2 separate regions of the Homo sapiens genome follow, and region 2 is linked to region 1. Evidence: promoter capture Hi-C in 16 types of primary human blood cells and fetal thymus (Javierre and others, 2016). All regions are on one chromosome and are shown on one strand. The core of a region is centred on a gene start or on the middle of the fragment in contact, and the rest is flanking DNA. Distances in the headings are between cores, read along the strand shown. Region 1 holds the start of PPP5C (protein phosphatase 5 catalytic subunit). Region 2 holds the start of IGFL2 (IGF like family member 2).

What was found. Contacts are between HindIII fragments. The CHiCAGO score rates a contact against its expected background, and 5 or more counts as called.
Region 2: a contact is called between the fragment with the promoter of IGFL2 here and the fragment with the promoter of PPP5C in region 1, in 3 of 17 cell types (neutrophils, M1 macrophages and M2 macrophages). The highest score is 8.3, in neutrophils.

Annotation. Positions count from the first base shown.
Region 1 is chr19:46,345,704-46,350,700 of GRCh38, forward strand. PPP5C (protein phosphatase 5 catalytic subunit) reads left to right here and starts at 1,384. Exons shown (of 13, transcript NM_006247.4): 1 at 1,384-1,514. The coding sequence starts at 1,394. RefSeq lists enhancers at 1,222-1,401, 1,502-1,631, 3,878-3,937, 4,758-4,997 and a silencer at 4,298-4,357. The HindIII fragment of the contact is 16,758 bases long and covers 1-4,997 here.
Region 2 is chr19:46,145,575-46,150,249 of GRCh38, forward strand. It overlaps IGFL2 (IGF like family member 2), which reads left to right and starts at 2,664. Exons shown (of 4, transcript NM_001135113.2): 1 at 2,664-2,723. The coding sequence starts at 2,705. The HindIII fragment of the contact is 5,659 bases long and covers 1-2,896 here.

The sequences.
Region 1 (4,997 bases), core at 134-2,633:
AGGAGAGATGGGGTTGGACTAACAAGAGGTTTGGGAGTGGGATAGATAGGTTTAGGAGTGTGCTTCCAGGAGGGGATCCAGAGCCTTACAGGACTTAGTGCTACATGAGGGCTTAGAAAGGACAGACTGGAAGCGTGTACGGCGGGTGGGGATTGGCAAAGGGGTGGAATCTGGATATTAGACTATTCAGCCTGAGGTTAAGACTATTCAGGGTCTCCTAATCAGGAGTTTGGGTTTTCTCCTAAGGGTGCTGGGGCCATGGAAGCCTGGGAGCGAGAGTGTGCCATGGTTTTATCATGTCTTAGAAAGATCCCTCGGCCGGGCACGGTGGCTCACGCCTGTAATCCCAGCACTTTGGGAGGCCGAGGCGGGCGGATAGCTTGAGGTCGGCAGTTCGAGGCCAGCCTGGCCAACGTGGTGAAACCCGTTTCTACTAAAATACAAAAATTAGCCGGGCATGGTGGCGGGCGCCTGTAATCCCAGCTACTTGGGAGGCTGAGGCAGAAGAATCGCTTAAACCGGGAGGCGGAGGTTGCAGTGAGCCTAGATGGCGCCACTGCACTCCAGCCTGGGCGACAGAGGGAGACTCCCTCTCAAAAAAAAAAAAAAAAAAAAAAAAATGTGAAGGGTAAACTGGAGGGAGGCAGAGTGCATGCAATCAATGCTGTGATCTCAGACAAGAGAATCTGTAAAAACACAAACAGGAGAGTTTATTTGAAGATTCAGGATTTGGGAAGCTGAACACAGGAAGAAAGGAGATGGTGCAACACACTTCTAAGCCTTGCTCAGGACTTGAAATCCAGAGTGCCTTCAGTTAAAAACTCAAACACTGACCCTCAAGGTTGGACCCTTTTTGGCTTGAGAAACCACTAATTTTTCAGAGATGGGTAACTGAGACCCTAGAGAGGAAGGGAAGATTTGTTCAAGGTCACACAGGTAGTCGACAATAGGGCTCGACGCCCGGGTCCGGCTCCGCGTAGGGCATGGCGCTGCCTTGCAAAACAGCCACACCCGCCAGCGACATTCACAACCCACCCCCCAACCCTAGAGGACAGCGGGGAAATCCCACTTTCAGAACCGAGAAACTTTTTACAGCCTTGGAACACGGTAACTTTGGGAGGAGAGGCCACACCAGGTCTGTTTCCCCGCGCGCCCCTTCTCTCATTCCCTATTGGCTCTCTCTACCAGGGGTACCGTCTGGGGAACCTCTGGTCACCTTGTCCTCCGCGCGCTCTGTGGCGAAAGGGACCTGCGCAGGCGCGTGAAGGGCGCCTTCAGGGCCCGCGCTTTACGACACTTGTGCGGCAGCGGCGGCGGCCACCCGGCGCTCCTTCGCGACGGTTCGGCCGGGTGCCGCTGGCGGCCGTTGCCAGGGTAGGGGTCGCTTTGCGGCATGGCGATGGCGGAGGGCGAGAGGACTGAGTGTGCTGAGCCCCCCCGGGACGAACCCCCGGCTGATGGAGCTCTGAAGCGGGCAGAGGAGCTCAAGACTCAGGCCAATGACTACTTCAAAGGTGCGCCCGCCTGGCAGGGAGGGTGGACAGTGGCCCAGGCTGAGGGGTGCCGGGCCCGCGCGGAACCATAGCAACGCGGAGCTGCAGCCTGGGCGCGGGGCAGACACTACCAAGTGACCGGGCGTGGGGAGGCCCAGGATGGCGCTGCCAAGGAGCGACATAGGGGGCTTCGGAGAGTGATACCTAGGAGTGGCGTGCGGAGCGGGTGCTACTCAGTGGAGAGACTGAGGAGGGCGCCACCAATTGTGGGGCGAGAGGGGGACTGGAATGAGGGCGCTACCAAACGTGAGGCCTGTAGAGGGCGCTACCAGGCAGTGACATGTGGTGGGGGAGTGATTGATGGCGCTACCAAATGGGGAGTCCTGGGGTGGGTGCCGCCAAGTGGGGGGTAGAGGGGGCACAGCCCCAATAGAGAAGGCAATCGTGGGGGTGGGGAATGGATCATTAGATGGGGGGAACAAGGAAGTAGGAGATTTGGGCTGACCCGAGGAAAAGGAATGTGATGGTGGGGGCCTTGGGAGTAAGGGTGGGGATCCTTAAGAATAGTATCACTTAGAATATTGAGAGTCAAGTGTGGGGCACCCATTCATTCATTAATTCAACAAATATTTATTGAGTACCTGTTATGTGCCAAGGACTGTGCTTGACTTTGGGGATATAGCAGTGAATGAGACAGATGTGGCCCTGTCCTTAGCTTGTAATTTTGCAGGTGAACCAGACATGAAAAAAAAAAAAACAAAAAAAAACCATGTAAATAAGTAAAATACTTAAATTGTGATGAGTGCTTTGAAAGCAAACCAGCAGTGTGATGAAGTAGAGAATAAGGGTTGGAGGCTACTTTAGATAGGGTAGTGGGGGAAGGCCTTACTGAGCAGGAGGCGTTTAAGCTGAAACTCACAGAGGGAGAACTGGAGAGGAGTGTTCCAGGGAGGTAAAGCAGCCTGTGCAAAGGCCCTGGGATGGGGAATGAAAGGGTACTGGCATGGCTGGGGCTTTGGCTACTTAGGGGGAGACCAATAACAAGATGAGATTAGGACAGAGGCCAGATCATGCAGGGTCTCCGTGAGTCATTACAAAGACCAGTTTGGAATTTTTTTTTTTTTTTTTTTTTTGAGACGGGAGTTTTGCTCTTTTTGCCCAGGCTAGAGTGCAATGGCGCAATCTCGGCTCACTGCAACCTCCGCCTCCCTGGTTCAAGCGATTCTCCTGCCTCAGCCTCCCGAGTAGCTGGGATTATAGACGCACACCACCATGCCCAGATAATTTTTGTACTTTTAGTAGAGATGGGGTTTCGCCATGTTGGCCAGGCTGGTGTCGAACCTCTGACCGCAGGTGATCCGCCCATCTCGGCCTCTCAAAGTGCTGGGATTACAGGCATGAGCCACCACGCCCAGCCCTACAAGAAGACACATTAAGTAAATGGGCCAGTCTGGACTGGAGAAGAATTTGGGTGTGATCAAACTATGGTTGGGAATGGATGAGATCATCTAGTAAGAGGGTCTAGAGGGGGGACTTAGGACAGAACCCAAATGGAAGAGGGTGAGGCTAAGGAGGAGCACTTAGTGAGGTGGAAAGGAAGCCAGGAAAGGTGTCGGGAAGGCTGAGAGAAGGGAGCGCTTCTAGAACAAGGAGCTGGTGCCTTTAGTCCGATGCTGCCAAGGCAAGCACTGGCCATTGGCTTTGGCTCCATGGATGCTGGTAGTGATGTTGACAGGAGCAGTTATTGGGGAGTGATGGGGGTGATGCAGCCAGGAGGTGCTGAAGAGTGAATGGGAGGGGAGGAAGTGGAGACAGCAAATGTTAAGTGTTAGGAGTATTGGTTCTGAAGGGGAGTGGAGAAATGGGGGAGGGTGGTAAGACGAGAACGTGCACAGGAGTTCGAGACCAACCTGGCCAACATGGTGAAACGACGTCTCTGCTGAAAAAATTAGTTGGGTGTGGTGGCACACACCTGTAGTCCCAGCTACTTGGGAGGCTGAGGCAGGAGAATTGCTTGATCCTTGGAGGCAGAGGCTGCAGTGAGCCAAGATCACACCACTGCATTCCAGCCTGGGCAACAGACTCCGTCTCAAGAAAAAAAAAAAGAGAGAAGATGCAGTGTCAGGGAAAGATGGATTTTTTGTAAGGATGGAAGAGAGTAGAGTCCAATAGAGATGGAGAATTGATTCTGCACAGGAGAGGGGGGACTTGCAGCAGCAAAACCCTGGAGAAGGCGGAGGTGGGAAGGGTCTGGAGCCCTGGAAGAGACTTGGCCTCCAACGGGAGCAGAAGCAAAGTGTGGAGAAGCTCGATCCGGTGGGAGCCGTGAGAGGGAGGTAGGACCAGTGAGAGATGAGGCCAGAGGTAGAACCTTGGAAGTCAGATTGGGGAATATGGGTGTCATCCTGGGGGTGGTCGATGCCATGGGAAGTTTCAAGAGCGGGGTGCTGTGGTTCAGTTAGTGTTCAGAAAAGATCCCTGGCTGCCATGCAGAGACTGGACTCCAGGGTAAGACAGGAAGGAGTCTAGATTAGTGGACAGGTGAGGAGGGGTGGTGATCGCCAGCCAGGCTGGAGGGACAGAAATAGATTCAAGAAGTGTTTCAGGGAGGAAGTGAGAGTGGCTGCCTGGAGAGAGGGTGGACGGTACTCCAGGCAGGGAAAAAAAAAACAAAAACAGGTGGCAAAGGCCCAAAGGTGAGCAGAGCCAGGCATGGAGGCCATAAGTGGGGCCACAGCGTAGGAGGCTGGAGGAGGTTATGATGAGTTTGCAGGGAGTAGATTGCGCAGGGCTGTAGGAAGGAGCCAGGGCTTTCTGGGGTGGGGTGGCGGTGGGGGGTGGGGCTCTGGGGAGCCCTGGGAGGTTCTGAGTAGGGAAAGGACAGGGTCAGGTTTGTGTTTTAGGAACACCCCTCTGGAGGGGCAGGACAAGAGGCTGCGAGGCCAGGTGGAGGCTGAGCCAGGAACCTGGGCAGGAGAGGCCAGACCAGGGCTGGGTGGGGCTGGAGGGTGAGAAGGGAGTGGCTGAATCTGAGAGATGTTCAGGAGGCTGACTTGGCAGAATAAGTGAAGTGACTACCGGGCTTTGGGGGCTGAGGGATGGAGAGGAGTCCAGGATGAGGCTGTCTCAGCCAGGTGATGGGGTGGAAGGTGGAATTCCCTGGGATGGGAGCAGCCTGCATGGGGGTTGCTGCTGAGGCCGCATCAGAATTCTGGGCCACAGCAGCCATTGGGAGGAGCCTGTTGCCCCCCAGGACCTGGGATCCAGGCTCTCAGGAGTCCTGGGGCTGGGCAGGCAGCCAGAGGGGCCTGGCACTGAGCTGGCACGGAGGAGAACGGCCCTGCTGGCCCAGGCCCCTTGCTGTCTGTCAGGCAGTAGCAGGCACAGAGCCCCAGGCTCCAGGGCTGTGGGAATAACAATAAAAAAGAATAATGACAGCTCACCTTAATTGAGCCTTGTGGCCAGGTACGCTGTGGGGTTTAATCCTCCCCGGGGGCTGGGAGA
Region 2 (4,675 bases), core at 1,414-3,913, 200 kb before region 1:
GAGAATTAAGGACACACTCATATATATGTGTGTGTGTGTGTGTGTGTGTGTGTGTGTGTGTATTTATTTATTTATTTATTTAATATATATATTTAAATTTTGCCAATTCTAGTAGATGGGAGATAGTATCTCACTGGTTTTAATTTGTAGTTCCAGTATGGCTAATGGTGTTGAACAACTTTTCATGTGCTTATTTGCTATCTGTATGTCCTCTTTTGTAAAGCATCTGTTCAGATATTTTGCCGATGCTTAATGATTTTGTTTGTTGTTTCACTTTGAGTTTTGAGAGTTTTTCATATACTCTGGATTCAAGTCCTATGTTAGAGATGTGATTCACAGACACTTTCTGCAGTTGGTAGCCTGTCTGTTGCTTCACTTAACAATTTGTTCATCAAGTTTAACTTTAAAATTTTGATAAGTCCAATCTGTTTTTAAAAAATGGATAATGCTTTTGATGTCTTTTCCCAGATATAAATGTTTTCTCTGATGCCTTCTCCTTGAAATACGTAGTTTTACTTTTCATATCTAGACCATTTGGAGTTAACTTTTGTATAGAGTGTGAGCTTTGGTAGAAGTCTTCTTTTTTTTTTTCATATGCATGCCCATTGTCTCACACCATTTGTTGAAATGACTATCTTTTCCCCCATTGAATTGCCTTTACATCTTTGCCAAAAGACAATTTACTATATTTGTTTGGGTTTATTTCTGGAACCTATTCTGTTCCTTTGATCTATGTGTCTATCCATGTCTATCCATTTGCCAATACTACACTGTTGTCATTACTGTAGCTTGAGTAATTGTGAAATTGGATAGTGTGAGTCCTCTACCATCTTTCCTCATCCAAAATTGTGTTGGCCATTCTAGTTTCCATTGCTTTTCTATATAAATTCTAGAGTTATTTTGTTTCTCTCTCAGACAAATCCTGCTTGGGTTTGATTGGAATTGTGTTAAATCTGTAGATAATTTGGAAAGAATTGGCATCTTACCTAAATTACAGATTCCAAACCACGACATGATATACCACTCTGTATTTAAGGTTTCCTTGAATACTTTAATCGTACACATCCTTTATATGTTCTCCTAGATTTACAGTATACCAGTTCAGTTTTTGGGGAGGGGGGTATTGTAAATGGCATTTTTTTTCTTTAAATTATTGTATCCACTAGTTCTTGCCAGTATAAAGGAATACAATTGACTTCTGTGTGTTTCATACGCTACAACCTTTCTAAATTCACTTATCAGGTCCAGAACTCTTCTACTAACAATGCACTTTTATAAAGCCCTAACACCTCTCCTGATCTCTGTCTCACCCTCCCACCTATCTCACTGTGGGATGGGAAGGAAGTCAATGGAAAACACAGGAGCGCATTCTAATAATAGCCCACATGGTATCCAGTGACACAAATAATAGTGATGGTGACAATAAAATAACAGTAAGAAACACAGAAGGAGCGTTTCCTTGGACAAAGCACTCCAGAAACAACAACAAAAAGGGGCTGCCTTTCCATCTATTCTATGAATCCCAGATGTCTATTTTATCACTGTCTGTTCCTTTTCTGTTCTCCCTGGCAGGGTTTTTACAGCCCCTGCTCTTTTTCTAGATTATGCTGCATCTTCACAGTTTCCCCTAAATGACTCTGAAGAATTATAGACAGTGCTGTCTACAATTATAATAATGGATATGGTGGTCCATTTCCAAGACAAAGTACCTCAGATAGGCTGAGGCCCACAAACTATGGAAGGACAGAATATACTAGGCCCATAGCTGGTGCATGCTTGTCGGGGTCCCCTTAGTTACCCTCTCCCAAACCAGAGTTTAGTCTAGAATGAAAGTTTACTAGCCAGCAAAATAGCTCACTTTATCTATTCTTATCAGCTTGCCTGACTGCCTAGGTCATAAGTCAAATACTTGAAAAGCCCTCGAGCTGGCTTTGATTGCAATGTATTATAGGCTGCAACAAAATGCAGTGAGACAATCCTAAAGAAAACACCTAAAAGCCTCAACCCAGCAACCAATAGGCGACGTCTGGGAAGATCGTGACCCCATCGTACTTAGCCTACGAGGAACCAGGGGAGAGACTTGTGCACTAGGGGATAAATAGCTTGTTGTAACCGTACTGGGTGTGCCTGCCTACCAGACATTCAATCTTGCAAGACCATCATTAAAAGTCTTGCTTCCACTGTTTTCTGTGTCTCTGAGTCCATTCTTTGGGTTTGGACGGGTGCGTTTGTTTCTCATAGTGCAGGTCTGGAGCCGGACTGAGATGGGGAGTAGAGGGACCCCTTGAAACTTCAGGGTGGATGAATATGAAGTTTCATCACCAGCTGTGATGTTTGGTGAGTAGTATGCTCTCAGATAAGTGAGAGCCAAGGAATCTCTTTCAAGTCTCTTTGCCGTGGGCAGAGTTCAAAGAATGACACTCACTCACGGCTTTGAAAGGTTCTAGGGAAGCCTTTACTCTGAGATTTCGAGAGGTCTGAGAAGGTAGCAGTCACTTGGAACAGGTCCAGGAACATCTTACTAAGCTGTTGATGCAGTTTTTTCTTATGCTTTCTGTGGCTTCTCATGCCCCACCCTTTCCAAGAGGCCAGTGCTTCTGGGCACCTCCCTAAATGTGGATAAGTTCATAGCCTACATAAGTCCCTGTATAAAGTCACTGACCCATTTGCACTGCTGCTGTCCCATCAGCTGCTCTGAAGCTCCATGGTGCCCAGAATCTTCGGTAAGGTAACCCTTGCCCCAGGTTGAGCTAATGCCTACTGTTATCCCTAATGTACCTCTGAACCTCAAACTTAATTCTCTCTTCCCTATTTAATTCTTGGTTTCCCACCTCATAATCACCCGTGTCCTCTCTGACTGCATTGCAATCTCTCTTCCCCACCTGCAAATTCCAGAAGCTTAACCCTTTCCAGAGCCCTCCCTGCATTTCCTCACCTGCCAAGCCCAATGCCCAGAACCTGCACACAGAGTCAGTCCCAAAATCTGCTCTGAGCTGTTACAGCAACCAAAGAAACTCAGAGACATCATCTTGTGCCCCATGATCATGATCTGGTGACCCCAGAATCACTGTCATTCTTCTCTCAGCTGATCTTTATTTTTGAACTCCTGGGCTCAGACTCAGAAGGGACCATAGGTGAGAATGGGTGTGGTGAGTGGAGGGAGAAGAAAGGAGGGAGGATTATAGCACTGTGGATAGGGTTGGGGGCTCCCAGAGGTCCCCTGCCAGCTCATCAGCTCTGACTCTTCCAGATATTGGACTGTGGTTGTGCCAGTTGACACTCAGGAGTGGAGACTAGATCTGCAATCTGTTGGGACTGTGATGAGGGGATCATCCTGCCCTCGAACCAGACCCAGCCCTGTAGCCCAGGCACTATTGCCTGGAGTTCCTGGGCTCTCAGCGCCAGGAAATCATGAGGTTCAGTGTCTCAGGCATGAGGACCGACTACCCCAGGAGTGTGCTGGGTAAGTAAGGGCAGCCCAGGCAGTGGACTGAGTTTTGTTGTGTGTATTCCATCAAGATGAGCAATGCCTGCTGTGTTCACTAACTTCTTTTTGGGCAACCATCTCTCTCTCTCCCTCTCTCTCTTCTCTCTCTCTCTCTTCTCTCTCTCTTTCTCTCTCCCTCTCTTTCTCTCTCCCTCTCTTTTCTCTCTCTCCCTTTTCTCTCTCTCTCTCTTTCTCTTTCCCACTCACCCCTCACCCTTTCCACCTCTCCCCCTCTTCCCCTCTCCCCCTCCCCCTCCCCTCCCCATCTCCCTGTGTCCCTCTGTCTCACATCCCCCTCTCTTCTCTTCCCCTCTCCCCTCCCTGTCTTTTCCCTCCTCTCCTTCCTTCTCTTCCTTCCTCTCTCAAGTTGAAGGAAGAGTAGCTCAGTCATCTTCCAGAATTGCTTTTTACCTCCGAGTCACCTGGCTCCATAGCCCCCGACCACCGCATGCCCATTTAGCTGTTCCTCTCTTTCCCCTCTACCCTCACCCTTGGCAACCACCAGTCAGCTTTCTGTCTCTATGGATTTACCTATCTGGGACATTTCATATAAATGGAATCACACCATTTATAAGTGACCTTTCGTGTAACTTTTTTTTTAACTTAATGTTTTCAAGGCATATCCCCATTATAGAATTTATTAGTACTTCATTCCTTTTTACAACTGAATAAATTCAATTGTATCCATGTATCAGCATTCATTTATCCATTCATCTGTTGATGGACACTTGGGCTGTTTCCACCATTTGGCTATTGTGAATAGTGCTGTTACAAACATATGTATACATGTATTTGCTTGAGAACCTGTTTTCAGTTATCTTGGGTGTACACATAGGAGTGGAATTGCTACGCCACATGGTAATTCTGTTTAACTTTTTGAGGAATTGGCAAACTGTTTTCCACAGAGCTGCATCAATTACATTCCCACCAGCAGTGTATGAGGGCTCACATTTCTCTCCAGATTCTTCAACCTTTGTTATTTTCTATTTTCCTGTTTATTACAGTCATCTGGGTGGGTGGGTGTGATATCCTGTGTAGTTTTAATTTGCGTTTCCTTGGTAAATAACAATGCTGAGTGTCTTTTCCATGTGCTTATTGGCCATTTGTATTCCTTTTTGAGAAAAGGTTTATTCAGATTTTTCCATGTTTAAATTGGGTTATTTATTTTATTATTATTTAGTTGTAAGA